Linked DNA regions of Homo sapiens: region 1 is linked to region 2. The links are contacts of gene promoters, found by promoter capture Hi-C in human tissues and cell types (Jung and others, 2019). All regions are on one chromosome and are shown on one strand. The core of a region is centred on a gene start or on the middle of the fragment in contact, and the rest is flanking DNA. Distances in the headings are between cores, read along the strand shown.

The links. Contacts are between HindIII fragments. The study calls those that stand out against the background at their distance.
Region 1: a contact is called between a fragment that was not itself captured here and the fragment with the promoter of FSIP1 in region 2, in 1 of the 25 tissues and cell types used here (lymphoblastoid cells).

Annotation. Positions count from the first base shown.
Region 1 is chr15:39,426,427-39,429,773 of GRCh38, forward strand. No RefSeq gene overlaps it. Among named protein-coding and RNA genes, the nearest start is that of THBS1, 150 kb to the right of the region's middle. The HindIII fragment of the contact is 3,298 bases long and covers 1-3,216 here.
Region 2 is chr15:39,781,479-39,784,588 of GRCh38, forward strand. FSIP1 (fibrous sheath interacting protein 1) reads right to left here and starts at 1,363. Exons shown (of 12, transcript NM_152597.5): 1 at 1,150-1,363. LOC105370941 (a long non-coding RNA gene) reads left to right here and starts at 1,428. Exons shown (of 1, transcript NR_135665.1): 1 at 1,428-3,110. RefSeq lists a silencer at 993-1,172 and an enhancer at 1,473-1,602. The HindIII fragment of the contact is 15,521 bases long and covers 1-3,110 here.

The sequences.
Region 1 (3,347 bases), core at 318-2,817, 350 kb before region 2:
GGGGTGGTGGGAGGGGGGAGGGATAGCATTGGGAGATATACCTAATGCTAGATGACGAGTTGGTGGGTGCAGCGCACCGGCATGGCACATGTATACATATGTAACTAACCTGCACAATGTGCACATGAACCCTAAAACTTAAATTTAAAAAAAAAAAAAAAAGACATGTAATGCCTAGCAGTGACAGCAGAAGAGAAGTGAAAAAAAGAGTTTCTTTCTTCCGTTCAGCAAATATTTACCAAGTGCCAAAATGCCCAAAGTGGTGCACTAGGCACTGTGTGTGTGGGATGGGATGGACTGGGGAGACATCGCCAATGAATTCATAAGGCTCTTGTCCTCAGGGAACTCACCATCTGATAGAGGGGCACAGACCTTCTCTCCAATGCCTAGGACAATCATGGGGTGGAAGGTGCTCAAATTGAATCAAAAAAGACCAAAGTGACCCAGAGCTCACTTTTATGTCTTACACCAGCCAGCCCACAAGAGGAAGTGAATTTCAGAAGTGAATTCCAAACACAAAGATATGTATAAATGATATGGCATGGGAATTGCTGGTGTTTTAACTTTATTTTCCCTGACTGTTCGACATAGAATTGTGTTTGAGTTTGTTCAGTTCTGGCTGTAAATAGCATCTGTCAACCGCGTAACTTTTAGTATCATCAGTGACAGACCTGTAGCATCAGGCTAGAGTGCGTGCGGCTGTGGCAGCGTCTTCCAGTCCTCTGGGCTCTAAGTCTCTGCTCTGCCCATTCTGGTTGCTCTCTACGGCTGGTGCCAAATGGTTCCCGTCGCTTGGCAACAGACAGCCTGCAGTGATCTGGGTCTCGTGTCTGAGGCTGAACTAGGGACCACCCTGAATCATCTAGGGAGAGAATACAAGAACGGAGGGACTGCCCCTCACCCCAGCTTTCCTGTGGTTAACCAAACCCCTAGCTGTGTTTCCGCAACTAGCAACACCCGCTGCATTTGTCATCACAGCTGCACACGTGCCGCCGCCTTTGACAAAGACATGGTATCTGTAGCATACTTTCTGGGAAATGCTGTCTGAAGGTGCTGCATCACTGACACTTGCCGTCCAACTTGAATTGTGTAAGAAGTATTAGGCATTTTAGAAGCTCATGCAGAGACTCTGGGCTTTCTCATAAGCTAACACAAGCAGAAAAATCTACCTGCTCAGGCTCTTTTCTAAGCCAAGGATGCCAGAATTCCAACCAATTTCTGCTTTGGCCAAAGAGTATCTCAATTGCATGCTGACAAGAGCTTCAGCACAGCTACCCATCTTCATTTTCAAAACGTAGGTGCATCTAGCTCAGAAGGATAGGGTCCTGGAGACCCAGGAGAGAAAAGACAGATCCTCTGAATGTCAGAATAGGACCTTTTTCCCTGTCCTTGTGCTGTCAGCCTGACTCTCTGAGCCACAGCTCCAAGAACAGCCCTGGGGTTATAGAGGTGCAGGGCTTCTAGATAAGAAGCCAGAACAGACAGTCCCCTCTGTGTCATTTGTCGTTACACAATATCCTAACCTCACGCCTCTAGGGGGGCAGCCCAGCAAAGCCAGCAATAGCCAGAGACTGCTGGCTCTTTCTGAGCCACTCATGGTTTCAAGGTGTCCCAGATTTTAAGAGGCTGAATTTTCTTTATGCTTCCTGAGTGCTTCTATCTCTCCACTTTAACATTGACATATGCATGTATTGCAGTAATATTATTTATTCAAATCTACCATGTTCTGGGCACTGGAACAGTGCCTGGAACTGTTGCTGGAACTGTTACAGTGCCTGGAACTTCTTAGAGTATTATGTATTCAAAGTAATATCATTTATTCAACAAACAATATTATATAACTCCTTCTAGGGCTTACATTCTAATGGGGGAGCACACGATAAACAAATAATAAATGACAGTAAAATAAAACAAATAATCACATATGAAGAGGTCCTCTGTGCAGGATGTGAGGACCAACGTTTGAGCACTGGCTCTGACATAGAGTATGTGGAACCCTTATTCGCTCATGCAATCCCCAGGGAAATCCTCTTAGGAGGTACTATTAAGCTTCACTTGACAAATAGGAAAACTGAAGTCCAGACTACACAGCCTAAAAATAGTAGAACACAAATTTGAACCTGGGTCTGATGCCCAAGATCCATTATCATTCCACTTCACCATCTCTCCCCCTGAAGCAAGGTCAAGAGACAAGGAGAAGGAAGGCCAGGACTTTGAGCCTTTCCACCTCATGCAAGAGTGTCCTCTGAGCCTCCACTGCTCAACTCAAGCACGTGTTTTTAAACATTCCAAAGCACTCCCAGTTGCAAAGGAGATGTTGTAGGATGTTAGGTCTCAGCACAAGGAACCCAAACCTTCAGGGGCTCTCCTCTACATTATGCTCCCATTTTTCTCCCAAAATATCGATCTCCACCCACCCTAGACATAGAACTGGAGAATAAGTTCCAGTTTCATCCCTTTGCAGATCTTAGGGGGACCCATCAAATTCCCAGCCACTGGGTGAAAATCAGCAGCTTCTTTATAGGACCTGAGTTGCCTTCCTAGAGGATCCTAGAGGAAAAAAAAAAATCTTATCCTTCAAATACTGCTGTCTTCCAAAATACGTAAGGACGCCACGGTGAATCATAGTGGACACCCTGCATTGGTTGGGTTATTATTTATCCTAGAAGCTTGGGTTCTTGGAGCCCTAGCTTATTTAAGCAACAAAGTCCCTCACAGCCCACAGGTGAGGAAGTGAGTGTAACAAAGAGATCATTGGACCTAAAATCAAAACACCTGTCAAATCCCGGTTCTGCCACTTACTAGTTATGATCTTGAGCCAGAGACTTAATTTCTTTGAGCCTCAGATTCCTTTCTGTAAAATAAACAGTTGTGTGACTTACCTTACAAGGATCATTGTAAAAGGAAAGAAGACCTATGTAAGATTCTGTGTTGAAAGAGCTCAGTACATAATCATGTATTTTAAAAATTAGATGTGGCTTTAATTTTTAAATTTTTCTCATTAAATTTGACAGCAAATTATGTTACTTGGCTATGAATTTAAACCTTGCTTACGTCTCTTATTTCTGGGAAAAAACAAAAAACACCTGCAAGGTTATCCCACTGCTGATTCCTGAGGGGAGGTCCCTCAAGGGCACATAAGGTGACAACTCCTCCAGCATGGACAACAGCCACCCAGAGATGCCAGGGAAGAATAGAGGGAACTCTCTTCTTTTTCCAACTTTCCACGTAATTTGTAATTGTTGTTTAAACTCTCAATCCTCCTGGTGATATGATAGGCTCAACTTTCCAAGATACTGAAGTTGAAAGAGTTTAAAAAAAAAAAAAAAAAAGGTATAACCAGGAAA
Region 2 (3,110 bases), core at 113-2,612:
AAACATATTCACACACACAAAAAAAAACCTGTACATGAATATTTATACCAGCTTCATCAATAATAGCCAACAACTGGAAAGAACTCATCCAAATATGCCTCAAGTAGGAAATGGATAAATATACTACCGTAGATCCATACAATGGACTATTACTCAGCAACATAAAGGAACAACTGATACACAGAACATGAATGAATAGCAACTGCATGATGCTAAGCTGAAAGAAGCCTGATTCAAAAGGCCACAGGGTGTTTGCTTCCATCAATATGACATTCTGGAATAGGCAAAATTACAGGAACAAAAAACTAGGAAGTTGTTGCCAGGGATGGCGTTAGGGGAGGGATTAAATACAAAGAGCACTAGGGAATTTGGGGTTCATGATGAAACTTCCGTATGCTGATTGTGGTGGTTGGTAATTACATAACTGTATACATTTGTCAAAACTCACAGAACTGTAGATTAAATGGGTGAGGCTTACCATAAGTAAGTTATACCTCAATTTTAAGTTAATATATTTGTGCCAATCTTTCTTTAGTTATGCTCATACATCCATAAAATATATTAGAATTGCTGAGTCAAAGAACACTTATGTTTCAAATTTTGGTAGTTCGCCAAATTGTACTCCAAAAAGGCTGCACCAAATTACACTACTTCCCCTACACTGGGCTGGGGCCCATCTGGTTATGTCAAAGCTGTTTCATCTTCTCCAGTCTCATAGGTGTAAAAGGTATCTGTGAATTTGGTTTACATTTCTTCACGAGAAAAGTTGAGTCTCTAATCAATTGTTTGCTGTTTGCATCTTTTTATTTTTCCTGTGAAATGCCTATTTGCATCCTTTGCCGTTTACGGTCTAGTTTAAATGGCTGGTGATCAGTTCTAGATCTTGGTGGGAAGATCCAAATCTCGGGAAAGTAGAAGCCTTGGTTACAGGTCCTAATGTTAGGTGATTCCTGGAGAAATAGCCTCCGCGGAGGCAGAAGCCGCTGGGGCCCCGCCCCCAATGAGCCCGCCCCCGCCCTCTCATTGGCCCTGTCCGCTCTCCCTGACAGTCCATCTACATGCCAAGCGGCCCGACGCAGCTCCGCCCCGCCCACTCCTCGGCGCACCGCCCCGCGACCGAGCTCCGCCCTCATCTGCGCGGCCCCTCACCTTCCCGCCGGGCCTCCTCGAGGAACTGGCCGCCGTCAGTCAGGGCGCAGATGGCCGCAGAAGCGCGCCGCAGACACTCGCCGCGCCAGCCACTTACCCCCAGAGGAGAGGGGTCTCTCCCGCCACCTCAGCCTCTCTGGTAGTGGAAGAAGCCGCCGGTCCAGATCCCTCCTGCCTGTGGGACCGCTGTTTCCCTGGCAACCAGATGCGCGATGCTTCCGGTCTCGCGATAGCGGAAAGGGCTGTACCATCCGGAAATGGGACCGGGGCCGGCGGCTGTTGGAGCCCTGCGAGCTGGGACGGCCGGCGTGTGTCCTTCCGTCTTCGCTGCCGACGGTGGGGGTTGGGAGCGATTTTTCGTCTTTAGGTTGGATTCGGAACGCGGACGTCTGGATGCTTGTGTATCTCTGTCCCTCATATTGCTGTGATGCCTTACAGGTCAGTTATCCTCTCCGAGCACAGTTTCCTCCTCCGTAAAATGGGAACAATAATAATTCCCTTCTTACAAGACTTGTGCAGCTCAAAAAGACCATGTATGTGAAGCTCTAGTAAATTTGGGGTGCTATGGAAATTTTAAAAATATGAGTTTTGCACAGATTCGGCTACAGTCCAAAAAGAGTTATAATTGCTTTTTGCACCTTCTTTCATTTCGTAGTTTCTCTAATTCTCAGTGCACGAAAATTATTTCCCTACGTCCACAAACTGATTTTCCTCACCTCCATTGCCATCATTTCTCCTGCTTTCCAGTCTGAACAGCACATTACCGTTTACAGGGCATTTTCACATTCATGGCCCCTTTGTCCTCATTGTTTTAACTAGGTACGATGTGGTTTTTTTTCAGCGAAGCAAATAGTCGTAGGCTGAGTTGCCGAAAGAACACAGCTGCAGTCTAGGCGAGTGCTGGGTATAAAAACCTGGCTATAAATGCCATCCCTATGCTCCTGAATCCTGCATCTTATCACCAGCCCAGACTTCCCTGAACTCCAGACTCCTTTACCTAACTGCCTATTTGGCATATCCACTTAGATGTGTAAGCATCTCAAACTTAACACGGGAAAAAACAACTTCTCCAGAGTCCCCCACCCACTTTCTATCCATCTCAGCAAATGGTAATTTCAGCCTGCCATGCCTAGACCAAAAACCTTGGAGTCATCCTCAATTCTTCTTCCTCTCTCACTCTACAATCTATTTGTCCTATCAGCTCAACATTCAAAATATATTCAGAATCCAAACATTCGTCACAACTTCAGTGCTTCCATTCAGGTTCATACTGACATCATCTCTAAATGATAAGGCTTTCTGTTGGCTCTCTGACCTCCACTCCTACCTACTGCTTTCCCCTGGTAAACCTGGTTCCAGCCTCACTGTCCTCATTGTTAGTGTTTCTGTGCAGGGATTTCTTCCCAGCATTTCTCAGGGAATTTATGTGGCTTTCCAAATCTCAAAAGAAAAAAAGTTGCAAACTGAAGAAAATGGGAGAAAGTATCCTAATCCTCCTATGAGAATTAAAACTTAGCAGCCGACCTAGAGATGTTACTGAAGAAATTCACCAATGTCAAGTTGAAAACCAGCACAGGAAATGCTGAGTTCGAGGTTGAGGTGAACATTTTCAGGAACCAGGTCAGGAGCACTTGGGAGAGACATGGCCACAATCTCATCAGTCAGTCTTGTTTGTAGTTGGTGCCATGAAAGCCTATGTTCCTGGCCCTGTGTGCCGCTGGCAGTGAGTCATTCTTGCAAATAAAATATAAATAGGTTGATACTCATTGTATACTTTATACAAATTCTATGAGCAGTGTTCAAAAAAGTAACGGGTTTTGGATTCAAAGTAAATCCTTAAATTGACAGTTTCCAACCCATGATTCTGGGTAGTACAGTTAACCCTGCTAGGAGATCTATTATTTGAATACTCCTCAATAATGTTCTCTGTGTTTTCCAGCATTTGAATATTTGCTATAAAC